Regions from separate parts of the Homo sapiens genome. Here region 2 is linked to region 1. Evidence: promoter capture Hi-C in 16 types of primary human blood cells and fetal thymus (Javierre and others, 2016). All regions are on one chromosome and are shown on one strand. Each heading gives the region's core, a stretch centred on a gene start or on the middle of the fragment in contact. The rest is flanking DNA. Distances are from core to core; before and after follow the strand shown. Region 1 holds the start of OTUD6B (OTU deubiquitinase 6B). Region 2 overlaps PDP1 (pyruvate dehydrogenase phosphatase catalytic subunit 1).

Evidence for each region. The method cuts DNA at HindIII sites, captures the fragments that hold promoters and counts their contacts. A CHiCAGO score of 5 or more calls a contact.
Region 2: a contact is called between a fragment that was not itself captured here and the fragment with the promoter of OTUD6B in region 1, in 1 of 17 cell types (total CD8 T cells). The highest score is 7.8, in total CD8 T cells.

Annotation. Positions count from the first base shown.
Region 1 is chr8:91,067,962-91,073,304 of GRCh38, forward strand. It overlaps OTUD6B (OTU deubiquitinase 6B), which reads left to right and starts at 2,383. Exons shown (of 7, transcript NM_016023.5): 1 at 2,383-2,505; 2 at 3,177-3,328. The coding sequence starts at 2,424. OTUD6B-AS1 (OTUD6B antisense RNA 1) reads right to left here and starts at 2,228. Exons shown (of 3, transcript NR_110438.1): 1 at 1,970-2,228; 2 at 1,618-1,861. RefSeq lists an enhancer at 2,431-2,610. The HindIII fragment of the contact is 11,349 bases long and covers 1-3,870 here.
Region 2 is chr8:93,920,040-93,925,382 of GRCh38, forward strand. It overlaps PDP1 (pyruvate dehydrogenase phosphatase catalytic subunit 1), which reads left to right. Exons shown (of 2, transcript NM_018444.4): 2 at 1,977-5,343. The coding sequence starts at 2,021. The coding sequence ends at 3,634. Among named protein-coding and RNA genes, the nearest start is that of PDP1, 5.8 kb to the left of the region's middle. The HindIII fragment of the contact is 3,370 bases long and covers 1,005-4,374 here.

The sequences.
Region 1 (5,343 bases), core at 1,133-3,632:
ATTTTAAATACATAAAATGCAACAATTTAAATGTACATGTTTTTAAATAGATGTATATCGATGTACATAAGTAAAACTATCACCCACATCAAGATCTGGAACATATATTTTATATATTAATGTCATATTATTTACCATATAGTTTGTTAAATGTTACATCCTATATTGTATGTTTTACATAAAATGTCTTATGTTTAGATTTTAAGAAAAATGTTGCCATTTCTATGATTTATAGTTTCCATTATCTTTAAACTCTTTGATCATTTGTTTTATACAAATGTATCTCAGGTTAGAGATTGATTTTTGACCCAATTTCAATTGTAATAGGGCTATTTAACCAGTTTATAGGTCATCTGTACTGTCAATCTACTTTTTGCTAATTTTAGTGTCTTTTTGCTATTTTTCTTTTTACCACTTCTTTTCCAAACATTGGAATGTATATATTCTATTTTTGTAGTTAACACTTATTTCCATGTCAAATTTACTTGGAACTATATGATTTACTTGGAACTATATGATGCAGTAACTACTGTTTTTCCCCATGCATCATGTACAGAAAATGAGGATGTATCCACCCCCTCCCAAACCAGTGATTTGGAAGTTTCTTTACAGTATCAGTAGTAACATGGACAAACTTGTTATTTTTTTCCTGCTATACTTAAAAATAAGGGAAATAAAACTGTACTGTTTTCCAATTGTCAGATTTGACATTTAGAATGTTATTTGTCAAATCTACAGTGACAAAGCCCTTTTACTTAGGTTTAGCTTAAGAACATGCGTATTTGTATCTACAATACTACATGCTAAAAATAAAACAGTATTTGTCCAATATATTGAACATGTGGTATGCCCTTCCAGTTTAAACGTAAACTGAAATTTTACACCCAGCTTATGTTTCTATTTTTGTATTTAGTTTTAATGCCCTATACATAACAATTTAAACTTAATGCTCCTTAACTAGTTTTAATGCATACCATCAGTTCTTTCATACAATTGCCTCCCTATTCTTATTTTAATTCAGGTTCTCTGTTAGCTGCAGTAAATCCTTCAGCAAAATTTTCAGGGAAAGTTCTTGGTTGATATACTTTCCTAACCCCTGTATATCTAAGAATGTCTTCCAGTTTCCTTTGTAAAGAAATGATAACTTGGCAGAGTATATAATTCTTGGCTCAAAATTATTTTCCCTTAACACTCTAGATATTGTTCCACTGTCTTCTGGCATTTAGAATTGCAGGAGAAAAATCTGAGGTCAGCCTGACTTTTGCCCCTTTGTAAGTAACCTGCTTTCTCTGACTGGATGCTTGTAAAATGTTTCGTCTTTGAAATTCAAAAACGTCACCCGGATATGTCTAGATGCTGCTTTCTTTTCATTAAACTTTAAAGGTATCCTATGAGCCTTTTCCATTTGTAGATCTAGTTCGTTCTTCAATTCTGGAAAATTTTTTCAAGTAGATCCTTTATTGTTTCAGCTCCACTTGCTCTGTCCTCAGTTTCAGGTATTCCTATTATGCATAGATTGTATCTCCTGGACCGGCCCTCTAGATCTCTCTTTTTCTCCTCTTAATTTCTTTTCCCCTTTTCTCTGTATTCTGTGACAATTTGTCGTTTTGCACTTACTTCAGTAATTCGATTTTGTGGCCAATCCAGCGTGCGCCCTTCTGTTAACTCTCTCAACTTCCTGGTATTTTCCAAGCGCTCTAATAGTACCCTCTTTATCATCGCGCATAGGTGTTTAAGCTCCTGTATTATATGATTCTCAATCCTTCTTATATCTTGTTTCCATCTCTATATCCGTTTCAAGAGGAGGCATTTTCTCGATTATTTAGCGCTGCTCCTTTTTTCTCAGGGGCGGTATTACGACCTTGGAGACAATAAACATAATTTAATTCCACACAGCCCCAAACAGCCCAAAGATTCCCATTGATAATTATCGACGGCTTTATTAAAATGCGTTATTTTTCTTTCTTACCTTTTCAGTTGCTTTTCTTAGAAACAGGGACCAAAATCAAAGATTAAAGAGGTCCTCTGAAGCAGGGAATGAAATAGACGTTGAAAACTATTCCCGTTACGCCATCTCTGCGCGCCTCACGTCAGGGCCAAGAGCCTAGCGCGTAGCTTTATGGCTGACTCGGCTCTGGCGCTCTAGCCAATTCCGAGGCTGCAAACTCCGCTTCTCCGCTCGCAGTCTGGTTCCTCCCCTGCCGCCCCGCCCATCACGGCAGGGTCACGGTAGCGCGCACGCGCAGCACCCCATTTAAGTTTCTCGTCTTTGCAGTGGCTTTGCTTAGATCCGGTGCCGCCTTGAAGGCGGGGCTGGGTCCCAGCCGTAGCCAATGGAGCCCCGGGTGAGGGTTGAGGGGTGGAAGGTGCCTACTAGCCGGTGCAGGTTTCTTCTAGCGCGTGTGCTGGGGTACCTGGTCGTCATGGAGGCGGTATTGACCGAAGAGCTTGATGAGGAAGAGCAGCTGCTGAGAAGGCATCGCAAAGAGAAGAAGGAGTTGCAAGGTGAGGCGGAAGGAAGTGGGAATCTGGAAGCCGCCGCGACTGGGGGAAGGGCGCGTGGCGGGTCGATTCTGGGGAATCTCAAGGCGTGACTTATCTGGATCACCCTAGACTTCCCCTAGTAGCAAGTGGCCTCTTCTCTCTTCACCTACCCCGGCGGCCCTTTAATTCCCCAACCTTCAGAGGCTTCCCCTTCTGAGGCCTGCGGCGTGCCCCCTACCCCGCGCCGCCGCCGGGGTGCAGGTGTCTGAAAATACCTAGAAGCCGCCGTCTTGGTCCGCTCCCAAACCCACGATGCCTCCCTTTTCTATACCTGCCCCAGTTACCGATACTTGTCCCTAATGGGTGTATTTTGAATGGACCCGCCTCAGTTTAGGAGGTTCAGAAAGGATACCGGAAAGATTTAAAACTGGCTACAGTCAGGTTTTTTTCCTTCTCTTATCTCGCCAAACAACCGAAACATATTCAAGATTTTGTTAATGAAGTTTTTTTTTTTTTTGGTCTCAGCTTTATCTGGGATCTTCTCTCTCTGTAGCTGCCTGTTACGTGATGACTCTTTCTTCCATAATTACTTTTTCTGTACCCTTCGCCCGTTACCATCCCCTTATTGGTTCCTGTTTCTCATCTCCTTTTACTCCTGCGTGTCTGACTTAATGATTTTAATGGCTTTTCAGCCAAAATTCAGGGCATGAAGAATGCTGTTCCCAAGAATGACAAGAAGAGGAGGAAGCAACTCACCGAAGATGTGGCCAAGTTGGAAAAAGAAATGGAACAGAAACATAGAGAGGAACTGGAGCAATTGAAGCTGACTACTAAGGAGAATAAGGTATGTGAAATAAATGTTTGTCGTTGCCTACACCATTTGAAAACAGCTGTCCACTTCTGTTAAATGTTAAACTGCTTTTTTTTTTTTTTTTGAGACGGTGTCTCGCTTTGCAAAACACGCTCAATCTTGGCTCACTGCAAGCTCCGCCTCCCGGGTTCAGGCCATTCTCCTGCCTCAGCCTCCCGAGTAGCTGGTACTACGGGCGCCCGCCACTACGCCCGGCTAATTTTTTGTATTTTTAGTAGAGACAGGGTTTCACCATGTTAGCCAAGACGGTGTCGATCTCCTGACCTTGTGATCCACCCGCCTCGGCCTCCCAAAGTGCTGGGATTACAGGCGTGAGCCACCGTGCCCGGCCCTGTTAAACTGTTTATTATCTAAAATCATAAAATTGGTAGGGAAATGAAATCACTTAGTTATGCTCATGCATCACTTCTCATTAATGTTTTTGTGACCAAGTTTACAGGGCAGTGTGTTTCTATAAGGGAGATCGGCAAAGAAAGTGCTATACTTCTTTACCTATTTACTTGCCCAAAAGATGAAGCTTCACCAAATCAAAGTTGGAAGACCAGGCATCTGATCCCAGAATTGCGACTGAATGGGATTGTAACCTGAGCAAGGTTACTTAATCTTTCTGAGCTCAAATTTTCCCACATATATAATACGATACAAATATTTCTACACTCTAAGCACAGGTTTTTGTAAGAATCAAGAAAGTGAACGTGAAGTCATTTTTGTTATAAAAGTGCTTTATTAACAAGTTGTAATGAATGAAATTTTACTGATGTTTCTTGGGTAAGTTGGAGCATCCTAACTTTCATAATTTTAACTAATATTTATTTTATCGTTGGATCTAATATATATGTGTCAAATACTTTGGTTTATATGTATTATCTCATTTAACCTCAGTAACACACTGTGAGGTATTACCTATGAAGTAAGTATACATAATCCCATTTTTCAAGTGGGAAACAGGGTTAGAGAGATTAAGAACTTTGTCCAGGAGTCGTAACAGCTGTTGATTGCCAAAGCCAGAATTCCAAATGAGAACTATCTTACTCCAGGAAGTGAATACTGAATTCTGTTACAGCTTTGTATAGTGTGGTATTTATTGTATGGGTTTTGGATATGAAGGGTCATATAGACCCCACAACCTCACTCCATCTTTGATAGAAAGTTCTTATGTCTATGTAAAATCTTAATCTGCCATACTTAAATTTTGGTTGATTTTTGGTTTGCTGTTGACAAGTACAGCTTGTCTGTGCTTTTTATAATGGTCCTTACATTAAATATAGTCTAAATTTCTTTAACTTTGTTAGTTATCAAGTTCCCAACTTTCCTTGCCTTTAATGTACTTCATCTCCAGGTAACAAGGCATATATGATACTCCAGGCGTTAAATTGTGTTGTGACAATTGTGTTCCTAATTGTCTCCCCATCTTTTCTATTAATGAGATAGTTTTGTTTGCTCCCTCAGACCTTTCCATTTTGAGGTTTCTTTCCCAGGTTTCCAAGGACAAAAATGTTTGATTCATAAGCTACATGGAGTCCTACTGTTAAAACACAAACTCCCATTTTAGTTTGAACTATTTATCTGTTTCATTAATTTAAATTGGTTTTCTTTTCTGAATACTACCAAAAACTAATGCCATTGCTTTTTTGTTTTTCAGATGCATCTCTTTTATCTTGCCTATTGTCAATATAGATGTTTGTAAATTTTAACAGCTTCCTCTGAAGAATCACAGGACTCCTAATTTCACTATAGTTGATAGCCACTCTTTGAAGTCTCTATCTGATTTTGATATTTTGATCATTTGGGACACAGCCTTTGCAGACTTCTGTCTCTGTGTATTAAAGGCCTTGAGTTGTTCTATGCATGTGTTATACTAAAAACTGGCTTACCTTAGAGTTGCAGTAATAATGGCTACTCATCCTTATAGTTAAAAGTCTAGCATCTTTTTTTTTACTCTAGCAAACACACACTAGCCATTTAGGATTGATTATAATATCAAATGA
Region 2 (5,343 bases), core at 1,440-3,939, 2.9 Mb after region 1:
GTTACGGATTCTTATTTCCAAAATTTTAGCCATTACTTTCTATTGCCTGATCTTGTCTTCATTTTCGTAAACAAATCCCTTCTTAGATAGTGCAGTTAAAATGATGGTACTTTCTACTACTTGCAGAAGAGAATCTGTGTGGCTGGCTTATGCAGTGCTTATTACAGAAACAAACAAGAATCAGTGATTATTCAGTGTTTAGTTTTCTTTGCTTCCCTCTACCCCAATTTATTACTTTTTCTCAAATTATTCTTCAAAAAAGGTACATGAAAATAATATATGGCTGACACATGCTATGATATTTGTTTAGCCGTGGGAAGGAATAGTTGCTATTAACTCAGATGGTTTTATTTTCTGTGTTCCTTTTTGTTTATTGCATTTGTTTATTTAAAGTATTTCCAAAGTGTTTCTTTATAGTACAAATGACTATTTTGAAGCAGTATCTCAAGAATTCAGGGAAAATATATGTTATTGAGGAAGAAGAGGGATTTTTTTTCTTGCCCAAATTATCTAGATTAATGATATATTCATTAAATTTCCCAAATAAATGCCCAGAAATTATTTTCAGCGCACATAGTGAGTGATAGGATTTTTTTTAAGTTTGTAATTATATTGCTGTACCTTTTCAATCCAAACCTTAGACTATTATTTGACTATACTGCTTCCCTGGAGCAAGTAAATACCTTTTTTTTTTTTTTTTAATGTGAGAGAAAACATTTTTGGTCTTTTAAAATTTATTTTTAATTTACAATTGACACATAATATTATATATTTATGGGGTACAATGTGATGTTTCAGTGCATGTATATATTGGTAGACATTGTGTAATGATCAAATCAGAGTGATTACCATATCCAAGAAAACATTTTTCTAGGGGTTAATTCTACTTTGGATCCATAGTAGATGAAAATACTTCTATGGGTTTTCCTTATAGCTGCTAAGCAGGGAACATTGTTAGTAGGTAAATTAAGTTCTAGGACTGAAACCATTTATGTTACTAACAAAGCTTTAGAGCTACTGCAATACTTAAACTTTTTTTTTTTTTTTAATCATGAAGGGCACGGTAGAATTCAACAGTGAATAAATGAAACCTGAATTTTATTTAAAAACCTCACTTCCATAAGCATAAAGGCATGAATCCTAGAAGAGCCTTAGATAGCATCTGCTCTGTTGATGTTCCTTTACAGGTTAGAAGAGTGAGACTCAAAGATGTGAGCTGACTTTTCCAAGATTATTTGGGAGTTGGTGGCAGACCTATGCCCGTTAGCCTGGCAAATTGCCACAGTGGACTAGAGAAGCAAGTTTTGCAAGACCATCTACTGGGGTACAGGAGAGAAATACTGGAATTTCTTTTTTTATTTAATTATGTAGAAATTTTTCTATATATGTTACAATGCATATTACTGTAGTCATATATGTATATGATGTACACGTAATTCATAAATACACATATGTTTGGCTGCCTCTTAACATTTTTGGTCATAGCCATGTGTAATCATGCCAAAAATTGACCACAGGTCTATGTAAAGGGTCTTCATAAATGGAAGAAGTCCCTGTGTAAAATGGGAGATTTCAAGGCATTTTTTAAGAATAGGGAGGGAGAAGGATGATTGGTCAGGTAGACGGCTACTGCATAATGTTATATAACCTTCATCTCCTCAGCTTTCCCCAGCCAAATCTGTTGTACATTCTGCACAGTTTGTACTGCACAAAGGACGACAAAGAAAAGAGAAAATTGAAGTTTGAGTATAGGAGCCAGGAGTTCAGTCGTGGTTCCACGAATGATTGGGAGTTGTGCCTGCCAGAATATACCCTGTAGAAATAGTACATGATGTGTGTATAAAATGTAGTACCTTCTAGCAAAGGCTTAACATGTAGATTGACTTGCTTAATATTTGTTATAAAGGCAAAGCTAGATTAAGTATCCTGAAATGTAACTCTTTCCTTTGTGTACATCTGTCTAATTTGCTGTCTAGGAATCCCAGTCAGAAGTTCCAGCCTGCCACTGTTCTCTGATGCCATGCCAGCACCAACTCAACTGTTTTTTCCTCTCATCCGTAACTGTGAACTGAGCAGGATCTATGGCACTGCATGTTACTGCCACCACAAACATCTCTGTTGTTCCTCATCGTACATTCCTCAGAGTCGACTGAGATACACACCTCATCCAGCATATGCTACCTTTTGCAGGCCAAAGGAGAACTGGTGGCAGTACACCCAAGGAAGGAGATATGCTTCCACACCACAGAAATTTTACCTCACACCTCCACAAGTCAATAGCATCCTTAAAGCTAATGAATACAGTTTCAAAGTGCCAGAATTTGACGGCAAAAATGTCAGTTCTATCCTTGGATTTGACAGCAATCAGCTGCCTGCAAATGCACCCATTGAGGACCGGAGAAGTGCAGCAACCTGCTTGCAGACCAGAGGGATGCTTTTGGGGGTTTTTGATGGCCATGCAGGTTGTGCTTGTTCCCAGGCAGTCAGTGAAAGACTCTTTTATTATATTGCTGTCTCTTTGTTACCCCATGAGACTTTGCTAGAGATTGAAAATGCAGTGGAGAGCGGCCGGGCACTGCTACCCATTCTCCAGTGGCACAAGCACCCCAATGATTACTTTAGTAAGGAGGCATCCAAATTGTACTTTAACAGCTTGAGGACTTACTGGCAAGAGCTTATAGACCTCAACACTGGTGAGTCGACTGATATTGATGTTAAGGAGGCTCTAATTAATGCCTTCAAGAGGCTTGATAATGACATCTCCTTGGAGGCGCAAGTTGGTGATCCTAATTCTTTTCTCAACTACCTGGTGCTTCGAGTGGCATTTTCTGGAGCCACTGCTTGTGTGGCCCATGTGGATGGTGTTGACCTTCATGTGGCCAATACTGGCGATAGCAGAGCCATGCTGGGTGTGCAGGAAGAGGACGGCTCATGGTCAGCAGTCACGCTGTCTAATGACCACAATGCTCAAAATGAAAGAGAACTAGAACGGCTGAAATTGGAACATCCAAAGAGTGAGGCCAAGAGTGTCGTGAAACAGGATCGGCTGCTTGGCTTGCTGATGCCATTTAGGGCATTTGGAGATGTAAAGTTCAAATGGAGCATTGACCTTCAAAAGAGAGTGATAGAATCTGGCCCAGACCAGTTGAATGACAATGAATATACCAAGTTTATTCCTCCTAATTATCACACACCTCCTTATCTCACTGCTGAGCCAGAGGTAACTTACCACCGATTAAGGCCACAGGATAAGTTTCTGGTGTTGGCTACTGATGGGTTGTGGGAGACTATGCATAGGCAGGATGTGGTTAGGATTGTGGGTGAGTACCTAACTGGCATGCATCACCAACAGCCAATAGCTGTTGGTGGCTACAAGGTGACTCTGGGACAGATGCATGGCCTTTTAACAGAAAGGAGAACCAAAATGTCCTCGGTATTTGAGGATCAGAACGCAGCAACCCATCTCATTCGCCACGCTGTGGGCAACAACGAGTTTGGGACTGTTGATCATGAGCGCCTCTCTAAAATGCTTAGTCTTCCTGAAGAGCTTGCTCGAATGTACAGAGATGACATTACAATCATTGTAGTTCAGTTCAATTCTCATGTTGTAGGGGCGTATCAAAACCAAGAATAGTGAGTGGCTCTTTCACTGGCAATTCTCAAATGATATACATTTAAAGGGCAGATTTTTTAAAAAGATACTACTATAATAAACATTTCCAGTTGGTCATTCTAAGCATTTACCCTTTTGATACTCTAGCTAGTCAGGTACTCCAAATTGACTTTGCAGCAGGGTGGCAGGGTCAGGAGAGTCTGGTCCTGCCTAGCTCAGATTTCATGGCACCTGCACTTGAAGCAAGTCACTTCTTTATCACAGGTGTCTTGAAACATTAGCTTCTTTTACCAACCTGAGAAAATTAGGATGACCTGGCAAATAAGATCTTGAATAGGCCAAAAGCAAGTATCTTGCTGTGTGTAGTCTCTTGGTTAAAGTGAAGAAACAGTACTGTTCACACCTTTCTTCACTGAGATTCCAGTGTACATGAGAACATATATTTATTGCATGATTTTCTAGATACACAGTCTATGCATTATTCATATACATTTATTTTAGCCTAAAGTGGTTTTCAAATCCAGTTCTTCAAGCCATAAATGACCAAGATCCAAGCAATCTGAATTTGTTTTTGTGATTATTTGACTGGAATGCTTCTTAAGTGGAATAACTATACTCCGTTATCCACCCGATTTCCTAATGTAATTGAAAGATTTTCTATTTTGCCACACACTTGGAGACAATAAGGGTTTTTAGTTTTATCTACTCTTCTATTGAAGTTAAAGAAAGAAAAAAAGATTTTTTTATTTGTATTAATGAAAAGCTTTAGTTTAAAATAAGGAGATCCAGAATAAAAAGAAGAGACTGATCTCTTCAATTATTGTCATCTGTAGCCACCAGCACATCACTCTTATGTAATCCCCAAAGGCTTGGCATGCCGTAAGTGTGTGGTGGGTAGACTGCTGCCGGGGAATCGTACTTCTTATTTAGTAATGATAAGACTTTTCATTATTTTTGGAATTTTAAAGATGACATAAATAAGTTTAAATATCAATTTGGGGAGTAAGGTTTAATATTGCCATCGGGTATTGAGACAGGAGGAAGTTTCTGTTTTTCTCCATTTAGACATAGGTCAATTAAAATATTTGGGTTTAAAATGACTAAATGCTTTAAACATATTGTAGCTTAAGATATATGTGTTAAGATATATACATGAGAAACTTTAAAAGGTAACTACTGTGCATGCCTGATGCTTAATAGAATACTTAGTGGCATCAAATGTTTGCAGCAGTCTCCATAATTATATTCAGTCCCTTCTAATACTGTATCAATGTAAATGAAATAAATATATTCAAATTGGCTTTTTGATATGCATCAAGTGGCATTTTGTTCCTGTGTTTAATAGTGATCTGTATACAGCTGTGCACATATTGTCATCACTTATTCTAGCATCACTGTTAAGGCTGTGATTATGTTTGATATTCACCTGGATTTTAATACAAGCCAATATCAGCTTCCCATTGTGTAATAACTTGGGTGTTTAGGAGTCTTTTCACATTTTTTGGGGATATGAACTAGATGTTCAAGAACTCCTTCTGGACTGTGGATACTGAATCAGTGTACTATTGGCTGCAGAATTTGTTTCAATTGAAAATAGACTCAGGAAGATTGCTGCTCAGAATATCATATAATGTTTATTTTTTGAGGTGTTTTTGTTTTTATTTGTGTGTTTTTTTTTTTTTAAGTCAGCTTGGAACTTTTTTCCTGGGTAGTATTTGGGAGAGGGAAAG